2 separate regions of the Homo sapiens genome follow, and region 1 is linked to region 2. Evidence: promoter capture Hi-C in human tissues and cell types (Jung and others, 2019). All regions are on one chromosome and are shown on one strand. Each heading gives the region's core, a stretch centred on a gene start or on the middle of the fragment in contact. The rest is flanking DNA. Distances are from core to core; before and after follow the strand shown.

The links. Contacts are between HindIII fragments. The study calls those that stand out against the background at their distance.
Region 1: a fragment that was not itself captured here is called in contact with the fragment with the promoter of PI16 in region 2 in 2 of the 25 tissues and cell types used here (dorsolateral prefrontal cortex and spleen).

What each region holds. Positions count from the first base shown.
Region 1 is chr6:37,304,746-37,308,989 of GRCh38, reverse strand. The region is part of intron 8 of TBC1D22B (TBC1 domain family member 22B); the gene reads right to left. Among named protein-coding and RNA genes, the nearest start is that of RNF8, 47 kb to the left of the region's middle. The HindIII fragment of the contact is 4,574 bases long and covers 703-4,244 here.
Region 2 is chr6:36,951,893-36,956,344 of GRCh38, reverse strand. It overlaps PI16 (peptidase inhibitor 16), which reads right to left and starts at 1,607. Exons shown (of 7, transcript NM_153370.3): 1 at 1,414-1,607. The coding sequence starts at 1,584. The HindIII fragment of the contact is 39,732 bases long and covers 1-4,452 here.

The DNA of each region.
Region 1 (4,244 bases), core at 1,740-4,239, 350 kb before region 2:
CTACCTTATTTAAGCCACTGGCACTGTCTTTTTTTTTTTTTTTTTAAGAGACAGGATCTTACTATATTGCCTAGGCTGGTCTTGAACTCCTGGGCTTAAGTGAACTCCCACCTTGGCCTCCCAAAGTGCTGAGATTACAGGTGTGAGCCTCCATGCCCAGCCAGCACTGAAATTCTGGATCTCTATTATTCACAGCCAAACTTAATCCTAACTGATATACCTGCCATCCCAAAATATACCTTAAAAATAAGTCAATTTTAAAAGTTCTCTACTTCTGTCTTTCGTCTTAAGGAGGAAAACCTGACTAACAACATGAGGTCATAAGTTGGTAAGGTGCCATGCTCGGTAACTGTACCCACTCCAAACTGTTAGCCATCTAGGGAGCAAAGGGAACAACAGACAAGGTGCTGAACCCTATTTTGGGGCACTGAAATGGGGGCTGTTGTTTGCCCATTAGCCCTTTGTTTTCACAGCCAGTGAGATAGTTCCCCAGCACTTCAGAGAGTGGGAGGGAGGGTTTAGTTCTATTTTTCTGCCTGCTGGGTGGATAAAATTCAAACATTTAGTCAAAAACTGTGAGCTGAGTGCACCAGCAAAAAGCAGTGGAGAAAGGGAGGAGCAAATGCTCTCTGAAGGGCTTCATTCAGCATAAACAATCTGTTCAGAAGGATCATTAAGCGTCCACTTGAGGAAATTCAACACATAATTGAAGCTGAAATGGGAAACCATGCCAGCAGTGCAGTCTCGAGTGAGGGCAGCGTCTCTGGTTGTCATGACAAGAGCATACAGCAGCAGGACTCAGATGGGAGGAAACAAGATTTTAAGGGATATTTTATGGCTATTTTAAAAGGCAAGGCATCCACAAGGAGGAAGCTCAAAAGCTCTTTATAAAAATCAAATTGGCCACTCTGGGCCTTACAAAGAACATGCCCATTTATTAACTGATGAAATGTACTTGAGTGATGGCTCCAGTCAACTGTTTATTTTTCCAAGAACTCTGAGCCCCAGTCCTAAAAAATCAGCTTAATATATGCCTCAAAAATTCCCTGACAGTTTTAGGAAGAACTGGTTTTACCAACACCAACAAGAGTAACTTGTCTATTCACTGCTCTAGGCATTTCCCAGGAACCATCTGTGATCTCAGGACAATTTCTAGATGTGATCTGGTGGGCCAGCATGATTCAACCTGACCGGCCGGACCAAGAGGCTCCAACGCCTCAGCTGCAGATGGCCTTTCTATTTTCCAAAGCCTCTGGTTTACCTGATTCGGGTCCTTGTTGTTGTTGTTGTTGAACCGGACTCATAAGAATACCTTGCGTAATATTTTCTGATAACAGGCCAGGCGCTGTGGCTCACGCCTGTAATCCCAGCACTTTGGGAGCTCCAGGCAGGTGGATCACAAGGTCAGGAGTTTGAGACTAGCCTGGCCAATATGGTGAAACCCCGTCTCTACCAAAAATATAAAAATTAGCCGGGCATGGTGGCAGGTGCCTGTAGTCCCAGCTACTCAGGAGGCTGAGGCAGGAGAATTGCTTGAACCCGGGAGGCAGAAATTGCAGTGAGCCGAGATTATGCCACTGCACTCCAGCCTGGGCGACAGAGCGAGAAGACTCTGTCTCAAAAAAAAAAAAAGAAAAAAAAGAAAAAAAAATTTCTCATAACAAAAGTAAACTGACTGAGAAAAATAAAAAAATATTTTTGACCATATCTAAAGAACCTCTTAAAACAGCAACAAATATTTCATTCAGAAAAAAGCAGTTTTAAGAAAACTGTCAAGAATTCATCTTATCACTTCTATGTAATAATTTTGAACTGGTTCAAGCGCTATATATAAACGTATTGTTGGGTGTTATGCATCTGGCATTTTCAGGAAAGTACCTGATGGCAGCAGCTGAGACAATAATAGCACTGCAAACCTGTAAGTGTAGAGAGGGTGGAGAGGCCCCTCGCTAAACCTGGGAAAGCCAAACCACCTGACAAAGACAGGGGGAGCTGGTCTCTGAGAGAGATGGCCACTCCAATGAGATGGTTGGAGGAAAGACTTATTTCGAGATTCCCACAGAGAAGAGACCCACTGGGAGGTGGTTCTGTTTCACAAGGCCCATGTTTTTCTGACTGTCAGAGGAGATGTGCTATTTTGAAGATGCTGCTTAGCTGACCATACAGCATTCTGACACTGTGCCTGTCAATCAGGGTGGTGACTATTAACTCAGAATAATACATGAACTCTGGCTGCTCAGTATAGGATAGCATGGGTATACATGTATCATGATGCCCTGGTTAAAATTAATTTTAAAAACCAACATACCACCAAGTTTTCACTATTTTCCTTAGGTTGCTGTATTACTTTTACTTTTATTTAGCAAACATTAGTTGCTGCTGGTTAAGTCAGCCTCCTGACATTGGCTATAGGATCCCAGATTATATGAGCCCAAACTCTGAGTATTTGGGTTATGGAGTAAAGGAAGAGGAGGCAAAGGAAAGGCAAGGTCCAGCACATACTTAATCTTCTAGGACCTGCCCAAAGACCACTCACAGAGATGGGCAGCATGTTACTAAGACGCTGTGGATGTGAACAGGCTCTGGGAGGCTCAGGGTCCCCACTGCCAGTGTCAGCTGTTCACAGAGGCTACTCATGTAGGCTCAAATATCTTCAATATGTTGGCTACCTCAACATCTCCTCTGTTACGATTTCTCACTTATCCCTGGGGTCAGATGAGGGACAGAGAGCAAATGTGCACATCCTGCTCAGCTCACTGCCAGGGTAGAGGACTAGGCTAGGTCTTATAGTCTCAGAAATGACAAGCCACAACTTGCCCTTGGAGAGCTCACCTCCTGCAATGACAGGAAATCCAGCACTGGACGCACCACTGTCCCACCAAACGCACACACTGTCTTCAAGTGTCACTGAAAGCAGCTCAGCATCCTGACTGGGCTATCTCCACACACTGCTGGCAAGAGCCTCAATATTTCTCAGCTGCCTATCACATGGGAGGCTGCTTCATCTACGAAGATGGGGCCAGGAGGCAGCTTGAGTCCCAAATAGGGTGGCTGCTAAAAACTCAGCATCAAGCCCACTCCCCACCAATTCCCTCCAAACTAACAACATTAAAGTGGAAAATTCTTACTATATGATTCAAATTAGATAAAGCTTAGAAATAGGCAAAACTGACCGGGCGCGGTGGCTGACGCCTGTAATCCTAGCACTTTGGGAGGCCGAGACGGGTGGATCACGAGGTCAGGAGATCGAGACCATTCTGGCTAACACAGTGAAACCTTGTCTCTACTAAAAATACAAAAAAATAATAGCCAGGCGTGGTGGCGGGCGCCTGTAGTCCCAGCTACTCGGGAGGCTGAGGCAGGAGAATGGCGTGAACCCGGGAGGCAGAGCTTGCAGTGAGCCAAGATTGCGCCACTGCACTCCAGCCTGGGGGACAGAGCAACACTCCGTCTCAAAAAAAAAAAAGGAAATAGGCAAAACTAATCTAGGTGTTAGAAATCAGTAAAGTAGTTACCCTTGTAGGGGCAGGGGAGGAGAGGACGGGGTAGGGACTAGGAGGGAACACAAAGGGACTTCTGAAGTCCTAGAAACGTTCCACGTCTTGCTGTGAGTGCTGGTTATTTTGGGGAAATTCATCGAACTGTGCATGTATGACAGATGCACTTTTCTAAATGTATGATTTAATATGAAGTTCACATTTTAAAAAGCAGAAAAGGAATGGCCTCTTGAGACAATAATAAAGTTTGTCCAGTTTCATCTTTGGCCTAGCCAGACAGGGAGGAACAGACTGGGCAAAGCTGATGCAAAGAGTCAGATGTAAGATGGAGGATGCCGCCTCCCAGGACTGAGCGTGGGGGGCGAGCACAATCCACAACAGCCCAGGAGCAAGACAAGACAACAGGATCCACACTACCTTTTCTTTGAAAATGTGAGTGTTGACTATCAAAAATTAACTGCACAGCTCCCTCCCTTACCTCCTTCAGGGCTCTGCTCAAATGTCATCTCCTCAGTGTGAAGGCGGCTCACCACCCGGTTTAAAACCTGCCTCCTGCTCCCACACTTGCCAGCATGGCACATCCCTGTCCCTCTTTCTTGCTTTGTTTCTATCCATAGCACTTATCTCAATCCTACAAATATCTGTTTTTTCAGTTGATTGTCTGTTTCTGCCCACCAGAAATTAAACTAAGAAAGCGATTTTTTTAAAAAAGTAGAATTACGCATAGTAAACTGCACATATGTGCAC
Region 2 (4,452 bases), core at 358-2,857:
CAGGTGGGGAAACTGAAGTCCAACAATGAGTCACAGGCCTCAATCAGGGAGCTGTTGGCAGAGCTGCATCTGTGACGCCTGGTTTGTTGTCCACCTTTCCTCGATGTGCAGGCTGGCACAGCTGTGAACGGCAGTGCTGGGTGTGTGCAGAGCTCTTCCTAGATCTTTCTTACGTGTCATCCTGTCTGACGCCCAGGGCAGGGATCGCCAGCCCCATGTTTCCATCTGGAAACAGAGGCCTTTGAAGGGAAAGGGGTCCACCCAGAGTTACTTCAGCCAGATCACATTAGGCTGAGGTTAGAACTTAGGTTTGGGGCCCCAGGCTCACTGTTATGTTCCCCAAGGTGCATCTGTTCTCTCAGGCACCAGCTCCAGGGGTCCCTGAACACTGCCCAGCAACCTCCCCAGTCACCTGAGGGTGGCTGGAGGGGACAAGCTAGTTCAGCCCTCAGGGAGGGCAGGAAGTGGGTGAATTTCTCACTTTATCTCCTTTAATTCTGCATATAGACAGCCCGCCTCTCACCCTACCATAAATAGCTCTTCCTGACAGAAGTAACCAACCCTAAATCTGGCTTCTGTCTCCTGTGTGCATGTACATGTAATGTTTACTACATCTGCGTGTTTCACCAGGACATAAATAGTATTTTTACATGTTTTCAGACTTCATGTAAAGAGATCCTACTGTGTATTTTTTAGAGATTTTATTTCCTCCCCCATTCAGTATGATATCTGTGAGATTCAATCCACACTGGTATATACGTAGCTCTAATTCTGACCGCCTTTTACAGATGAGACACGGGATCGGCAAGGTTACAGGACTTGCCTCGAATCATAGGTCTTGTAGGTGACCGAGACAGAATTTGGACTGTGTGATCCAGAGCCCTCTCTGCTTCTGGATCCTGCTGTCACCCACCTCCTTAGCACCTGCCTCCTACTCCACGTGCCCACGCCCATCCTGCTGCCCTGCTTCCTCTTGTCCTCTCCTTGGCAGGCATGTGAAAGACCGTTTTCACAAAGGTGTTAAGAACTTCCCGGGTTCCCCCACTGAGGGCACATGCATTTGAGGAAGTGCTGGGGAAAGCTCATTGGAGTGGGAAGCCAGGGCTTTGGGTCTGGCTCTACCAGCTGTGTGACCCCAACAAATCCCTCTGAGCCTCACTTTCCTTATCTGTATTATGAGGCTGCTTATAGGGGCCTGTGAATTTTATTAGGCGGGTGCAAAAGTAATTGTGGTTTTTGCCATTTAAAGTAATGTAATACCATGTCAGGGACTCGGGGACTCTGTCACTGACCAGAAAAAGGAGAGGAATTCTGAAATAGCTTCAGCATGAGGAGCAGGGTAAGAGAGCCTGGTGACAGACCCTGGCCAGCACCCCTTCCATCCCAGCCAGCAAGGGCCGTGGCCACACTTACCATGTGCAGCATGTCTGAGGCCGTCGGGGATACCTGGGCCCGGTAGAGGTTGTGCAGCTCCACCATCAAACGTTTCTCCTCATCTGTGAGGGCTCCAACGGGGCCTGTGGTGGCCACCAGCAGTAGCAGTAGCGGCAGCAGAAGCATCAGGAAACTGCAGGAGCCGTGCATGGTGGCCAGCCGTCTCTCCTTCTCCCGTCCAGGGGTCTGGCAGCTGGATTTAAAGTCCTTCCCACACAAGCACCACCCTGGCTGGGGTGGGGCAGTGGGGGCCGTGTTTGAGGCCCAGCCCGACTCACACAATGTCTCAGGGAGGGCTGGGCGCTTTGGGTCCCGACCAGCATCAAGTGCACTCCCCTTGGAGTCCTTGGCAAAAACCTCCTTTCTCTTGGTAACGGGGGCTCAGGCCAAAAGCTGTGTGAGTTCCTAAGTTGTGGACAGATCCTTCAGGGGCAAAATCACAGTAACCTCTGCAGAGCTGTGACTGGTTGCACCCAGGTCACACCCACTGTGTGTTGAAGATAGATAAGAGAAAGGAAACCACAGACCCTACCCACAGAGGAGTGGGCAAGATGAGGAAGCTATAGGCTTTTGAAAGGACAGAGGAAGACCAGATGTATTTGATAAAAGGCTGAGCCAACCTAAATCAGAATCCTGGTTCTGCCCCTTGCTATCTGTGTTTTGGCAGCTTTCTCAAGTGAATCAGTGACAATAATAGTACCTATCTCACAGGACTAGAGGGAAGATTCAATGACATATAATGTATGTAAAGCACCTAGTATGGTGTCTGGCACATAGTAGGCCCTCAGTAACAGTAGACAACCCACTCATGTGGCCTGGGCCTTAGCAGGCTACCAGCCCCCTGTGGAGGCAACATTCTTGCCTGCGGGGGGAGAGGCCAAGGTCTTCCCCACTCTAGCTGTATTCAGGAATAAGGCCTTTCACTATGGCAAAATTTTGGCTTCCAGGTATCCTCTCTGAATGCATGTGCTTGACATGCTCATTTGGAAGTGGGATGCTGGGACCCCTGTGCTCTAACTATGTAGAAATATAATGTGTCTGTTTCTTAAATCAAGAGAGAGCAGAAAAGCAGAAGGTTGAATGAGCTGATGCACCAGGAGCTCTGAGGGGAAGGTATTGGAAGGGAAATAGCCTTAGCAGTCAGGTGCTGGCATTATAATGACCTTGACCTTGCAGGGGCCATGACCGGTTCATGAAGCAGGAAGCTGGAACCAGTACTCTTGAGGACAGCTGGGATCCTTGAAGCCTGCTTCTTCAATGAATAGGGACCTAGAAAAAGTCTACCCACAGGCTTTGGAAGATGACAAGAAAACCTGTCCCTGCCTGAGTCTCCAAGTAAAAATAAAAACAAAACCAAGATGGATTACACACACATACACACACACACACACTTATTAGAATTAATAAAGTCAGCAAAGTTGCAGGATACAAAATTAACACATAGAAATTAGTTGTTTCTATACACTAATAATGAAAAATCCAAAAAGGAAATTAAGAAAACAATTTCATTTATAAAAGCAATGAAAAAGAATAAAAAGAATAAAATTCTTACCAATAAACTTTTTTTTTTTTTTTGAGATGGAGTCTCGCTCTGTCACCCAGGCTGGAGTGCAGTGGCATGATCTTGGCTCACTGCAACCTCTGCCTCCTGGGTTCAAGTGATTCTCCTGCCTCAGCCTCCCAAGTAGCTGGGACTACTTGCCCACCATGCTGCCCACCATAGCTGCTACCATGCCCGGCAAATTTTTGTATTTTTAGTAGAGATGGGGTTTCACCATGTTGGCCAAATGGTCTTGATCTCTTGACCTCGTGATCCGCCCGCCTCGGTCTCCCAAAGTGCTGGGATTACAGGTGTGAGCCACTGCGCCTGGCCCTTAGCAATAAACTTAACCAAGGAAGCAAAAGACTTGTACGCTGAAAATCACAAGTGTTGACAAACAAAGTGAAAGAAGACACAAATAAATGGAAAGTCATCCTATATTCATGGATTAGAAGACTTGATATTGCTAAGGTGTCAATGTTGCCTGAAGCAATCTACAGATTCAATGCAATCCCTATTGAAATGCAAATCATAATATTTTTATAGAAACAGAAAAATCCATCCTAAAATTTATATGGAATCTCAAAGGACCCCAAATAGTCAAAACAATCTTGAAAAAGAACAAAATTGGAAGTCTTACAGTTTCTGATTTTAATATGTAACCACAAATCTACAATAATTAAAATAGTGTGGTATTAGTATAAAGACAGACATTTAGACTAATGGAATAGAATAGCCCAGAAATAAACTCTTACACATATGGTCAAATGATTTTAGACAAGGGTACCAAGACCGTTCAACGAGGGAAAGGCAAGTCTTTTAAAGAAGACTTAGAAAACTGGAATGTCCACATGCGAAATAATGAAGTTGAATCTTTACCGTAAGTATATTAAAAAATTAACTCCAAAATGGATTAAATACCTAAACATAAAAGCTAAAACTACAAAACTCTTAGAAGAAAATATAAGGGGGACTTCTTGGCATTGGATGTGGCAAGGATTTCTTGGATATGACACCAAAAGCATAGGCAACAAAACAAAAATAAATTGGACTTCATTAAAATTAAGAACTTTCGGGGGCAGAGTGTAGTGGCTCATGCCTGTAATCCCAGCACTTTGAGAGGCCAAGGTGGGTGGATCACTTGAGGTCAAGAGTTCGAGACCAGCCTGGCCAACATGGTGAAACCCCGTCTCTACTAAAAATACAAAAATTAGCTGGGTGTGGTGGCAGGCGCCTGTAGTCCCAGCTACTCAGGAGGCTGAGGCAGGAGAATTGCTTGAACCTGGGAGGCAGAGGTTGCAGTGAGTCAAGATCCAGTCACCGCATTCCAGCCTGGGTGACGGAGTCTCAAAAGAAAAAAAAAAAAAAGACACAATTTCCCATGAACTGGGAAAAAATATTTGCAAATCATGTATCTGATAAGGGATTAATATCTAGGATATATATTTTGTGGGTTTTTTGTTGTTGTTTTTGAGACA